Regions from separate parts of the Homo sapiens genome. Here regions 1, 2 and 3 are each linked to region 4. Evidence: promoter capture Hi-C in human tissues and cell types (Jung and others, 2019). All regions are on one chromosome and are shown on one strand. Each heading gives the region's core, a stretch centred on a gene start or on the middle of the fragment in contact. The rest is flanking DNA. Distances are from core to core; before and after follow the strand shown.

Region 1 (2,906 bases), core at 40-2,539, 360 kb before region 4:
AAACCCAGGAATTTGGAATTGGTGTGGTATTTAAGAGTAATCCTGTGTCATTTTCTCATACGTGTAGATTGTGTAGCTACCACCTCAATCAAGATAAAGAATTCTTCACAAAATCTTCCTGCTGTGACACCCTTTAATAGTCATGCCATCCCTCTGCTTCCCTAAACCCTGTCAATCACTGAACTGTTCTCCAGCTCTATAGTTTTATCATTTCAACAATGTCATATAAATGAAATCATATAGCACGTGGTCTTGGGAGTTTAACGTTTTTCACTCAGTATTTGCCCTTGAGATCTGTCCAAGTTGCTCTTTGTCAATAATCCTTTTTATTGCTGAGTGGTTTTTTTTTTTTTTTTGGGATGGAGTCTTGCTCTATCGCCCAGGCTGGAGTGCAGTGGCTCGATCTCGGCTCACTAAAAGCTCCGCCTCCTGGGTTCTCGGCATTCTCCTGCCTCAGCCTCCCGAGTAGCTGGGACTACAGGCGCCCGCCACCACGCCCGGCTAATTTTTTGTATTTTTAGTAGAGACGGGGTTTCACTGTGTTAGCCAGGATGGTCTCAATCTCCTGACCTCATGATCCGCCCACCTCGGCCTCCCAAAGTGCTGGGATTACAGGTGTCAGCCACTGCACCCGGCCCTTTTGAGATGGAGTTTCGCTTTTGTTGCCTATACTGGAGTGCAGTGGCACGATCTCGGCTCACCACAACCTCCACCTCCCGGGTTCAAGCGGTTCTCCTGCCTCAGCTTCCCAAAGAGCTAGGATTACAGGCATGAGCTGATTTATTGGCTTTTCCTTTTCTCGGTTGTGCTTTTGCTGTCAGGTTAAAACTTAACATGACAAACCTAGCCCAAGTTTCCTAAGATTTTCTCCTACATTATTTTCTGAAAGTTTTATAGTGAGGTTTTATAATTATTCTGTATTAATTTTGAATTAATTTTTTATAAGATAGATGTCTTTTTCAGGGCTCTGTTGAGTGTATCTCTTTCTGAGGTCTGTGGTCTGCTCCATTGTTCTGTATTGTTACCTTCCTTTGATCCCACACAGTCTTAATTATTGCAGCTATTATAAAAAGTCTTGGAACTGGGTGGACTGATCAACACCCTCTTTGTTCCTTTTTGGAAATGTTTTAGCTATTCTGGTTCCATTAGCTTTCCATATACATTAGAATAAATTTGTTTATATCTACAATGAAATCTTGCAAGGCTTTTGCAGGAATTGCCTTAAACCTGTGTCATATTTATTTGGAGAGTAATGACATCTTTATTGAATGTTGAATCTTCCAGTTATAAACATGGACTGCATGTGTATTTAGATCCTCTTTGATTTTTTTCATCAGCATTTTGAGGTTTTCAGTATAAAAATCCCATACATGTTTTGTTAGATTTATAAGTGTTTCAGTTTTTTTAGTGATTGCATATGGTATTACATTTTTAGTTTTAGTTTCCTTTGTTTACTGCCAGTATAGAGAAATAGAATTGATTTTTGTAGGTTGATCTTGCAGCTTGTAAACTTTCTCTTTTTTTTTTGAGACAGAGTGTCTCTCTTATTGCCCAGGCTGGAGTGCAGTGGCGCGATCTTGGCTGACTGCACCCTCCGCCTCCTGGGTTCAAGCGATTCTCCTGCCTCAGCCTCCTGAGTAGCCGGGATTACAGGCACGTGCCACCACACTAATTTTTTGTATTTTTAGTAGAGATGGGGTTTCACCATGATGGCCAGGCTAGTTTCAAACTCCTGACCACAGGTGATCCACCTGCCTTGGCCTTCAAAGTGCTGGGATTACAGGCATGAGCCATGGTGCCTGGTCGGCGCCTGTAAACTTTCTAAGCTCACTTACTCTATTTCCTTTTTCTGTAGATTCTTTGGGATATACTACATAGGCAATCATGTCATCTACAAATAGGAATCTGTTTTCTTTGTAACCTTTATGCCTTCTGTTTCCTTACCTTGCCTTGTTGCCTTGGTTAGACCTTCAAATATTATGTAGAATAGCAGTAGTGAGAGAAGACATCCTTGCCTTGTTCCTGATTTTAGGGGGGATGTATTCAGTGTTTTTTTTTGAGATGGAGTCTCGCTCTGTCACCCAGGCTCTGGAGTGCAGTGGCGAGATCTCGGCTCACTGCAAGCTCCGCCTCCCGGGTTCACACCATTCTGCCTCAGCCTCTCTAGTAGTTGTGACTACAGGCACCTGCCACCATGCCCGGCTAATTTTTTTATTTTTTTTATTTTTAGTAGAGACGGGGTTTCACCATGTTAGCCAGGATGGTCTCGATCTCCTGACCTTGTGATCCACCCACCTTGGCCTACCAGAGTGCTAGGAATACAGGCGTGAGCCACCGCGCCCGGCCAGTGTATTCAGTTTTAAGTATGCATTCATTTATTATGAATGTACTGTTTAATTCAGTATTTAATTAGTACTGAATTCAGTATTTAGTTTTACATATGCATATATTTAGTATTTAATGCATTCATTAAGTATGCTGTTAGCTGGAGGTTTTTTATATTTATTCTTTATCAGGTTTAGAAATTCCCTTTTTCTAGTTTCCAGGAGTGTTTATCATGACTGGTTGTCAGTTGCTTGCCTGCCTGTCTTCCTGCCTCCTCCCTCCCTCCCTCCCTCCCTCTCTCCTTTCCCCCGCCCGTCCCCTCTCCTCCTCTCCTCTCCTCTCTCCCCTGACCCCCTGAGAGATGAGGTCTCACTCTCTTGCCCAGGATGGAGTGCAGTGGTACTATCATTAGCTCACTTCAGCCTGGAATTCCTGGGCTGAGGCAATCCTCTTGCCTCAGCCTCCTGAGCCACCATGGCTGCAAAAAAATTTTTTTTTTTTGTTGTAGAGACAGGGTCTTGTTCTGTTGCCCAGGGTGGTCTTGAACTCCTGGCCTCAAACAATCCTCCTGCCTGGGCCTC
Region 2 (2,949 bases), core at 266-2,765, 410 kb before region 4:
CCATGCTAGCAGGCAGAACTTTGCCTGCAGGAAGCCCACGCAACCTGGGTTGTGAACATATGCCCCCACAGCAGTTCTGCATTCGCTGCTGTCAGGAGCCCCAGGAGTAACCAAGCCTGGAGACTATTTTTACGTTAATTTCTCAACTTCTGAACCCCTGGGGAGTATAATACAAGCTAGAGCCCCAAACATCTCTGAATGCTTACAAAGTCTTAGTAAAGATCTCCCGCTTCTCAGAGCCCAAGCATATAAACTTCCTTATGGGGCCACTGGACGACTAGACTGTTTAGTCTATCTCTTTGCTGAGAGTATCACCCTCCAGAGGGACGAGAATGACTGATAAGAAGTCTCACTCTCATTCCCTGTCGCAAGGGTCCTAATACTCAATCTCTATCCCCATGTGGGTTGTTAAAACCCACAAATAGCACATGTGCCCAGGACAGGCACGACATTAGTTCAAAGGCCAAGTTAGCTGGGTTTAACATGGCCTTCACATTTGACCCCAGATATCTCTCTTACCTCCTGCAAGTTCAGTTATACATTTGTAAAATGTTTTATTTCACTTTCTGAGAGTCTTAGCAACAAAGTTTTGGGGTTATCTCTTCTACCATATTATCAAAACCCAAAATGAAACTGTATCATTATAAATAACTACTCCTTGTGCAAAGTCACCGAAGGGAACAACCATTTGCTATTTTTGACCAACCAGCTCCTATCCCCTCAATATCCATTTCGCTGCAACCCTCACTTGCAGTCCATATTTGACTAGCTGACTCCACTAAAGGGATGTGGATCAGGCCTAAGTCAATCAGCAGACTCCCCTTTGTGGCCCAGGGATGGATGCTGAGTTTAATCAGAACAAAGCCCAGGACTGGTTTGAATAGAGAACAAGCAGTCCCATCAGGCTTTCCTGTAGAGTGGAGGTAAAGAGGCTCTTAGTGAGGGACTACTGGGAGGGGCCTGAACTTCAGAGACCACAATGAGAAGGAGTGGGACCTGTGACCAACACTAAGTTAATACTGAGGAAGCGAAGCTGAGACCAGGAGGTAGAGAAACTAGATCCTGGTCCCAACTGCTGGAGCCACTAGATCAAGTTTTGACCAAATCCAGTCCTATCATTTGATTTTTCACTTCCAGGTATTTTCTTTCTTGTCTAAGCCACTTTGAGCTGCGTTTGTCAATAGAAAGCATTCTTAGTGACATGAAAATATACCAAGTATTCAAAGTTCAAAAATGAAAACAAAATTTTACTTACTTACCTGGATAACCAATTCCTTTGGCATTTGCATAGGGAACCCCAGAAGATCCAGGACTATAAACAGGATTCATGATTTCAAAAACTAAAAGAAAAAAAAGGGAATTTAGCCAAGCACTTTTGCTCTCAGATTTTTCTCCAGTACCAGTCCCCAAAAAGCAGGTAGCTAGAGTCCTTTCTCTAGGCTGCTATAAAACAATGCATTTCATGCTGCCCCCAACCAGCGAAGAACAGAAAAGGGACACTCGATGTCCTAATGGGTGCCAAACCAGGGCATGATAAACTTTTTTTCACAATTCTCCTCAGTCCATCAGAAGCTAAGGAGTAAAAATTGTTAGCTATATGTCCACTAAAAGCAAGGGGAAAGGCCAGGTACGGTGGTGCACTCCTGTAATCCCAGCACTTTGGGAGGCCGAGGTGGGCAGATCACCTGAGGTCAGGAGTTTGAGACCAGCCTGGCCAACATGGTGAAACCCCATCTCTACTAAAAATACAAAAATTGGCCAGGCATGGTGGCTCGTGCCTGTAATCTTAGCACTTCGGGAGGCTGAGGTGGAGGAATCATGAGGTCAGGAGACCAAGACCATCCTGGCCAACATGGTCAAACTCCGTCTCTACTAAAAATACAAAAATTAGCTGGGTGTGGTGGCGCGTGCCTGTAATCCCAGCTACTCAGAACGCTAAGGCAGGAGAATCGCTTGAACCAGGTAGTCGGAGGTTGCAGTGAGCCAATATTGCACCACTGCACTCCAGCCTGGCGACAGAGCGAGACTCCGTCTCAAAAAAACAAAACAAAACAAAACAAAAACAAACAAAAATTAGCCAAGTGTGGTGACGCACACCTGTAATCCCAGCTACTTGGGAGGCTGAGGCACAAGAATCACTTGAATCCAGGAGGTGGAGATTAGCAGTGAGCCAAGCTCATGCCATTGCACTCCAACCTGGACAACAGAGCGAGACTTTGTCGCAAAAAAAACATGGGGAAAACCCTACAAGTAACCAAAATGTTCTTCTAACAGAGGATAGTTAAGTTAACCAAGACATATCCAGAACATGAAATATCACGCAGCTGCTTTTCAAGAAATGTTTAAAAACAGAATAATACAATGTTAAGTGAAAACAAAGTAGAGTATTATACTGCATCCTGCATTACACAGTATGATCCCATATAAACACCTATGTGTATAAAAATGTGCATCCCTGGCACAAACAGAAAAAAAGTCTGAAAAGAAATATATAAAAATATGAACAGTGATTGACTCTAGATGGGAGTGGATTTAGTGGTCCTTTTGCAATTTCCTGTATTTATTTATTTATTTATTTATTTATTTATTTATTTATTTATTTTCCCAGACGGAGTCTCGCTCTGTCGCTAGGCTGGAGTGCAGTGGCATGATCTCAGCTCACTGCAACTTTGCCTCCCAGGTTTAAGTGATTCTCCTGCCTCAGCCTCCCGCATAGCAGGGACTACAGGCGTGCGCCACCACACCCAGCTAATTTTTGTATTTTTAGTAGAGACGGGGTTTCACCATGTTGGCCAGGATGGTCTCATCTCTTGACCTCGTGATCCGCCCACCTCAGCCTCTCAAAGTGCTGGGACTGTATTTCTCCCCTCCGCCCCCCCCACCCCACCCCAAGACAGGGTCTTGCTCTGTTGCCCAGGCTGGAGTGCAGTGGCACAATCTCAGCTCACT
Region 3 (2,700 bases), core at 159-2,658, 380 kb before region 4:
TCTGTCTCAAAACAAACAAACAAAAAAAACAACCAAATAGTGCTTTAAACCTTAGAATAAAAAAAAATATATCAATCTCTTGTCCACCCCCTTTTTAAACTATAGACAACTATTTTCACCTTTTTTTGGCACTTTTTAAAATAGTATTTTGGCTGGGTGTGGTGGCTCACACCTGTAATTCCAGCACTTTGGGATGCCAAGGCAAGTGGATCATGAGGTCAGGAGATCGAGACCATCCTGGCTGACACGGTGAAACCCTGTCTCTACTAAAAATACAAAAAAATTACCTGGGTGTGGTGGCGGTTGCCTGTAGTCCCAGCTATTCGGGAGGCTGAGGCAGGAGAATGGCATGAACCTGGGAGGTGGAGGTTGCAGAGAGCTGAGATCGCGCCACTGCCCTCCAGCCTGGGTGACAGAGTGAGACTCCGTCTCAAAAAAAAAAAATAGTATTTTATCTTTGTGGATATGGTAAAATTGCTATTGATTTACATGTAATCTTTTGACTTTTGATCATAGAAGACTTTTGCTGCCTTGTAAAACTCTTCAATCCACCAGTGAGTCAAAAACTTGTAGGAAATTTGTCAGTTACTTTTTTTCCTCCCCTGTAGTACTCGGTCCTGCTCCAGTCTGGACTGTTTTTTTTTTTTTTTTTCCTCCCCAGTCCTTCTGCACAGCTGCCTTTCTGGGAATTTCCTCCCCTGCCAGTTGAAGACCGAATCCTACTCTGTCGCCCAGGCTGGAGTGCAGTGACATGATCATTCATGGCTTACTGTGCTTCTACCTTCTGGGCTCAAGCGATCTTCCTACCTCAGTCTCCCGAGTAGGTGGGACTACAGGCGTGCACCACTATGTGCAGCTAACTTCTTATTTTTTTGTTGAGAATGTCTCACTGTGTTGCTGGGTTGGTCTCAAACTCCTGGGCTGAAGCGATTCTCCCACCTTGGCTTCCCAAAGTGTTGGGATTATGCTCAAGAGCCACCATGCCTGGCCTTGATTAATGATTTGACTGGGTGTGGAATTCTGGCTTGGAAATAATTTTCCGTTAGCATTTTGAAGGTATTGCTCTAGATGTCCTGTGTCTTGCTGATTGTTGATCCTTTATATATGCTTTTTTCTTTGGGAAGTTTTTAGGTTCTCTTCTTTGTCCTTGATGTTATGAAATTTCAGTCATCCTACCTATGGAGAATCTTTTAAAATTCATCATGCTGGACAGTCATTGGATCTTTTGAATCTAGAAATGTGTTATCCTGTTGCAGGAAATGGTTTTATAGTATTATTTCTCTGCTCTTTTCTCTGTGGTTTATTTATGAAATTCTCCTATAAGCAGAATTTTTTTTTTTGAGACGGAGTCTCGCTGTGATGCCCAGGCTGGAATGCAGTGGTGGGATCTCAGCTCACTGCAACCTCCGTCTCCCGGGTTCAAGTGATTCTCCTGCCTCAGCCTGCTCAGTAGCTGGGACTACAAGTGCGTGCCACCATGCCTGGCTAATTTTTGTATTTTTAGTAGAGATGGGGTTTCACCATACTGGCCAGGCTCGTCTTGAACTCCTGACCCCAAGTGATCTACCCACCTCAGCCTCCCAAAGTGCTGTGATTAACAGGTATGAGCCACTGTGCCCAGCCAGCAGAATATTTTATATTCCAGGCTCATCCTCTAATTTTTTTCCATCTCTTGGTCTTTTTTTTTTTTTTTTTTAGCTCTTCATTTCAGAGAGATTTCTTCCATCTTGATCTTTCCAACTCTTGTATTGAATTTTTAATTTTGGTTATTATTTTTAATTGAGAGCTCTGAATATTTCTTTTTATTCTTGTTTTTTTTTTTTTTGAGATGGAGTCTCACTCCAGTCACCCAGGCTGGAGTGCAGTGGCACTATCTCGGCTCACTGCAAGCTCCGCCTCCCGGGTTCACGCCATTCTCCTGCCTCAGCCTCCTGAGTAGCTGGGACTACAGGAGCCTGCCACCACGCCCAACTAATTTTTGTATTTTTAGTAGAGACGGGGTTTCACCATGTTGGCCAGGCTGGTCTCGAACTCCTGACCTCAAGTGATCTACTCTCCTCGGCCTCCTAAAGTGTTGGGATTATAGGCGTGAGCCACTGTGGCCAGCTGTAAAGTAATATTTTTAAAGTTTTCTTTTGTACCCAGCATTGTCTCTGATTCTTGAGGTTTTTTTCTTGAAAATTTTATTTTCTTTAATCTCTATCTTTTATGGTCTAGATTTTTCTCCAGTGTCTGATTGTGGTACTGTGAAATGTTTATTTTGTCTTTGACCTCATTTCCTGCCTTACAACTCCTATTTAATACAATCCTTAAAAATCTCCAAAATGATGTCTTTTTGTATGCTAATGATTGATTGATGGCCTGCAGACTCCCTTCAGGATGGGAGCTGGTCATCTGAAACACCTATGCGACTTTAGAGGGTTGGAACTTTCATGTCTGCCCCCCAACCTTCCAGGAAGGAGAGAGGGGTTCAAGGTGATGTTGATCACCAGTGGCTGTTGGTTTAATCAATCATGCTAATGTAATGAGGCCTCCATAAAAACCCAAAAGGATTGGGTTTGGGGAGCCTCCAGAATAGCCGAACACCTGGAGGTTCCTGGAGGGAGGGTGGTGTGCCTGGAGAGGCCTGAACACTAACACCTTGCCCTATACATCTCTTCATCTGTGTCCTTTGTAATACCCTTTATAATAAACTGGTAA
Region 4 (2,909 bases), core at 17-2,516:
ATTTCAGAGAGAGCCATCGGGAGCAGAAGCAACATGCGGAGAGGATGAGCAGGGACGGAGGCTCCACCATGACACTCTCAGTCCCAGCATCTCCTCAGCCCAGTCACCACACTGGAGAGGGAGGAGGCCCTTCAGACCCCGCAGGCCTCTGCACCCTGGGAGTTCCGCGTCTAACTCTCTTCCTGCAATCATCAGAGGCAGGAACTGGGCCCAGGTGGGGTAAAGGCAGGAAGACGTCTGCCTGCCCTGCTCCCTGGGCACTTCCCTGGATGCTGTATACCACAGGACAGAGATCGAGACTGTCTTTTGAAAAACATTTAGAGACAGGATCTCACCCTGTCACCCAGACTGGTCTCAAACTCATGGCCTCAAAGGATCCTCCCGCCGTGGGGTCCCAAAGATTATAGGCGTGAGCCACGGCGCCCAGCCCCAAACCGTCTTGATTCCCGACTTTGTAGGATGAAGGCCTGAGTGAAGAGGTGGGGAGGAGCTAAGCGGAGGAGCCCTACCCAGCCTGGACCACCCTGGGGCACGCACTCTGCGTCCACCTGACCTGGACGTGCCTCCTAAGGCTGGCAGCGAAGCCCAGGAGCAGAGCCCACGGATGGGCCCTGCAGGTGCTGGGCCTAGACCGACCGACAGACAGGCCTGGCCACTCAGGGCCACGCCGCCGCTGTGCCGCGCCTGCCCCCTCCCCGCCCGCCACCCCCGCCACTGGGGCAGGGACAGCGGGCCCAGCTCTGACCTCGGGTCTCGGGCACGCTCGACGTGGGCAGAGACACGGCCGCAGGGTCCTGGGGCTCGCTCGCTAGCCTCTGCCCGGCACACATGGACTTGAGCATCTGGAAGACGGCGAGGGGGGCCACGTTCAGCTTCAGCAGGTCCACCAGGATCCTGGCGGGGACAGACGCGGGGCCGGTGAGCCCTCTCCGCCCGGCGCGGCCACCTCCCTGAAGACCGGACAAGGACGGGGGCGGGGGCAGCGGGGGCTCCTCCCGACCAGCGGGCCGGGCGTACCCGGAGAGCAGAGGTCGGGGGTGTCTGGCGAGCATGCGGCCCCCACCCGCCCCGCTCACTTGAACACGTCGGGGTCGATACCGCCGCCCGCCGCCTGAGCCAGCTCGTACAGCTCCATCTCCTCGGTGCTCAGCACCTTCTTGCGCCGCAGCGCCAGCTTCTGCCGGGCCGCCTCCAGCCCCGGGGGCGCCGCCGACCCCGGCCCAGGCCCTACGCCCTGCGCCGCCATCCGCGAGGCCCGCCGAAAGGTGCGCCCCGCCCCGCCGCGCCCCCTAGCGGATGCGCCCACCGCCCTCTCCCTGCAGCGCCAGCGTCTGGCCTCCCGGGCTGCCCTGGCGGGAGCGGCGGGAGCGCGGGGACGGGGCCGCCTCCTCGGCGTCATTGGAGCCCAACAGTTAGTGGGCGCTCACGGTGTGCTGAGCGGCGCGCTAGGCGTCGGGAGTGGCATGGCGGACTGCAGGGGCCAGCTGCTTGGCGGTCAGGGCGTCCCTGATAGACTTGCATTGGTCGTGCTCGCTTAGGTGGCAGCACCCAGCCCAGTGCCAGGCATACATTGGGCGCTCAGTCAATACCTGTTTCAAGAAAGCGTGCAATTTTCTGGTCCGCACCGGTGCACCACTAGGGGTCGCTCTTCGGGGGGGGTGGGGGGCACTAATCAACAACCCTGCTTACGCGCACGCGCATTCCTTGCTAGGGAGAAAGTGCGTGAGCCCTACCTTGGGGCGCCAGAGGCCGCCACAACGCAGGCGCATTCAGCTAAGGACCACTCCCTCCCCCCGCACTCCTGCCTCGCCATTTCCCCTCCCTGGCCGGCCGGCCGGCCTTCTTCGCTTTGCGCACGTACCTTTTGAGGTAACGGCCCAAAGAGGTAGAAGCGCTTTTCCCGCCCGGCCGCGGGGCGTGGCTCTGCGCGCAGCTTGATGACGACGTTTTGGCGCGGTGGCGGAATGGCGGCTTCCACCTCTGAAGCGGGCGACGCTATGGGTCCCACAGGTGAGTGGCGCGGGACGCGCGCGTGAGACGGTCCGACGCCCTGGGGGCTTCCGCGAGCCCCTGCGGAGGCCATCTCCGTTCCTCCGCGAGCCCCAGGACTCGGGCGGCCCGGCGGCTCTGCCCAGGCCGGGCAGGCTGGGGAGTGGAGGGCCCCGGCTGAGTCTTCCTGCCACTCCTCTGGGCCATGCCTTTGTGCCACCTTCCCGCGCCGCTCGTACACTCTGTTCTGGTCCGGTAGGTGTTCGTTGAAGGTTACCCGTCGTTGAAGGAATTGAGGGAAGGAGAGCTTTGTGTTGAAATTGAGCCTTGGGCTCAACAGGCGGTGTGGGAGGAAGAGCCGGGTGTGGGTCCCAGCTCGACCCTTCCCCTGTGCGCTCCACATCTCCGAGCCTTGGTTTCGGAGGCTCCCGAAGCCCAATTCGCAGGAGAGTTGGAAACAAGTGGGCGCGTGCTGTTAAGGGAGGTCTTGGCATGACAGAATTTGCTTGGAATGATTAGCGTTGCCCAAGGGCTGTCGCTGTCAGAAAAACAAAACAAAACGAAACAAAAAAAACAAACGGGTCCGAAGCAGCTCCTGGAGAAAATAGGTGTTGGAGAGTCGCGACGAAGTGGACTCTAGGTGCATGGCACGCAGAGACCTGTGACGGGGGAGGGTGGCCATGGCAGGGTCAGAGAACAGGGGTGTGGGAGACACCTCTTGGGAGTTCTCGGGTTTGAATTTCCTCTCTTGGAAAGTTCCTAGAAATTCCTCTGGGCCTCATTCTTTCAGTCGCTGCCCATGAAAGCTTTTACTGAGCAGAGATGCTCTCCCCTTCATCATCTCTAGAGCTCCGCACTTATCCAGCAGTCCACAGTTTAATGCTGCTTTGATCATTTTGCAGTAGTGCAGTGTTTTCTTG

What was found. Contacts are between HindIII fragments. The study calls those that stand out against the background at their distance.
Region 1: a fragment that was not itself captured here is called in contact with the fragment with the promoter of MZT2A in region 4 in 2 of the 25 tissues and cell types used here (heart left ventricle and thymus).
Region 2: a contact is called between a fragment that was not itself captured here and the fragment with the promoter of MZT2A in region 4, in 1 of the 25 tissues and cell types used here (thymus).
Region 3: a fragment that was not itself captured here is called in contact with the fragment with the promoter of MZT2A in region 4 in 1 of the 25 tissues and cell types used here (dorsolateral prefrontal cortex).

What each region holds. Positions count from the first base shown.
Region 1 is chr2:131,133,562-131,136,467 of GRCh38, forward strand. The region is part of intron 6 of PLEKHB2 (pleckstrin homology domain containing B2); the gene reads left to right. Among named protein-coding and RNA genes, the nearest start is that of PLEKHB2, 30 kb to the left of the region's middle. The HindIII fragment of the contact is 8,401 bases long and covers 1-2,906 here.
Region 2 is chr2:131,081,318-131,084,266 of GRCh38, forward strand. It overlaps FAM168B (family with sequence similarity 168 member B), which reads right to left. Exons shown (of 7, transcript NM_001009993.4): 2 at 1,260-1,340. The coding sequence starts at 1,329. Among named protein-coding and RNA genes, the nearest start is that of FAM168B, 11 kb to the right of the region's middle. The HindIII fragment of the contact is 4,151 bases long and covers 1-2,949 here.
Region 3 is chr2:131,109,683-131,112,382 of GRCh38, forward strand. All of the region lies in intron 1 of PLEKHB2 (pleckstrin homology domain containing B2), which reads left to right. Among named protein-coding and RNA genes, the nearest start is that of PLEKHB2, 5.7 kb to the left of the region's middle. The HindIII fragment of the contact is 3,750 bases long and covers 1-2,700 here.
Region 4 is chr2:131,491,131-131,494,039 of GRCh38, forward strand. It overlaps MZT2A (mitotic spindle organizing protein 2A), which reads right to left and starts at 1,267. Exons shown (of 3, transcript NM_001085365.2): 1 at 1,077-1,267; 2 at 746-894. The coding sequence starts at 1,246. It overlaps MIR4784 (microRNA 4784), which reads right to left and starts at 106; the gene lies at 30-106. It also overlaps the pseudogene SMPD4BP. RefSeq lists enhancers at 598-1,391, 1,392-2,185 and silencers at 988-1,497, 2,018-2,207. The HindIII fragment of the contact is 8,382 bases long and covers 1-2,909 here.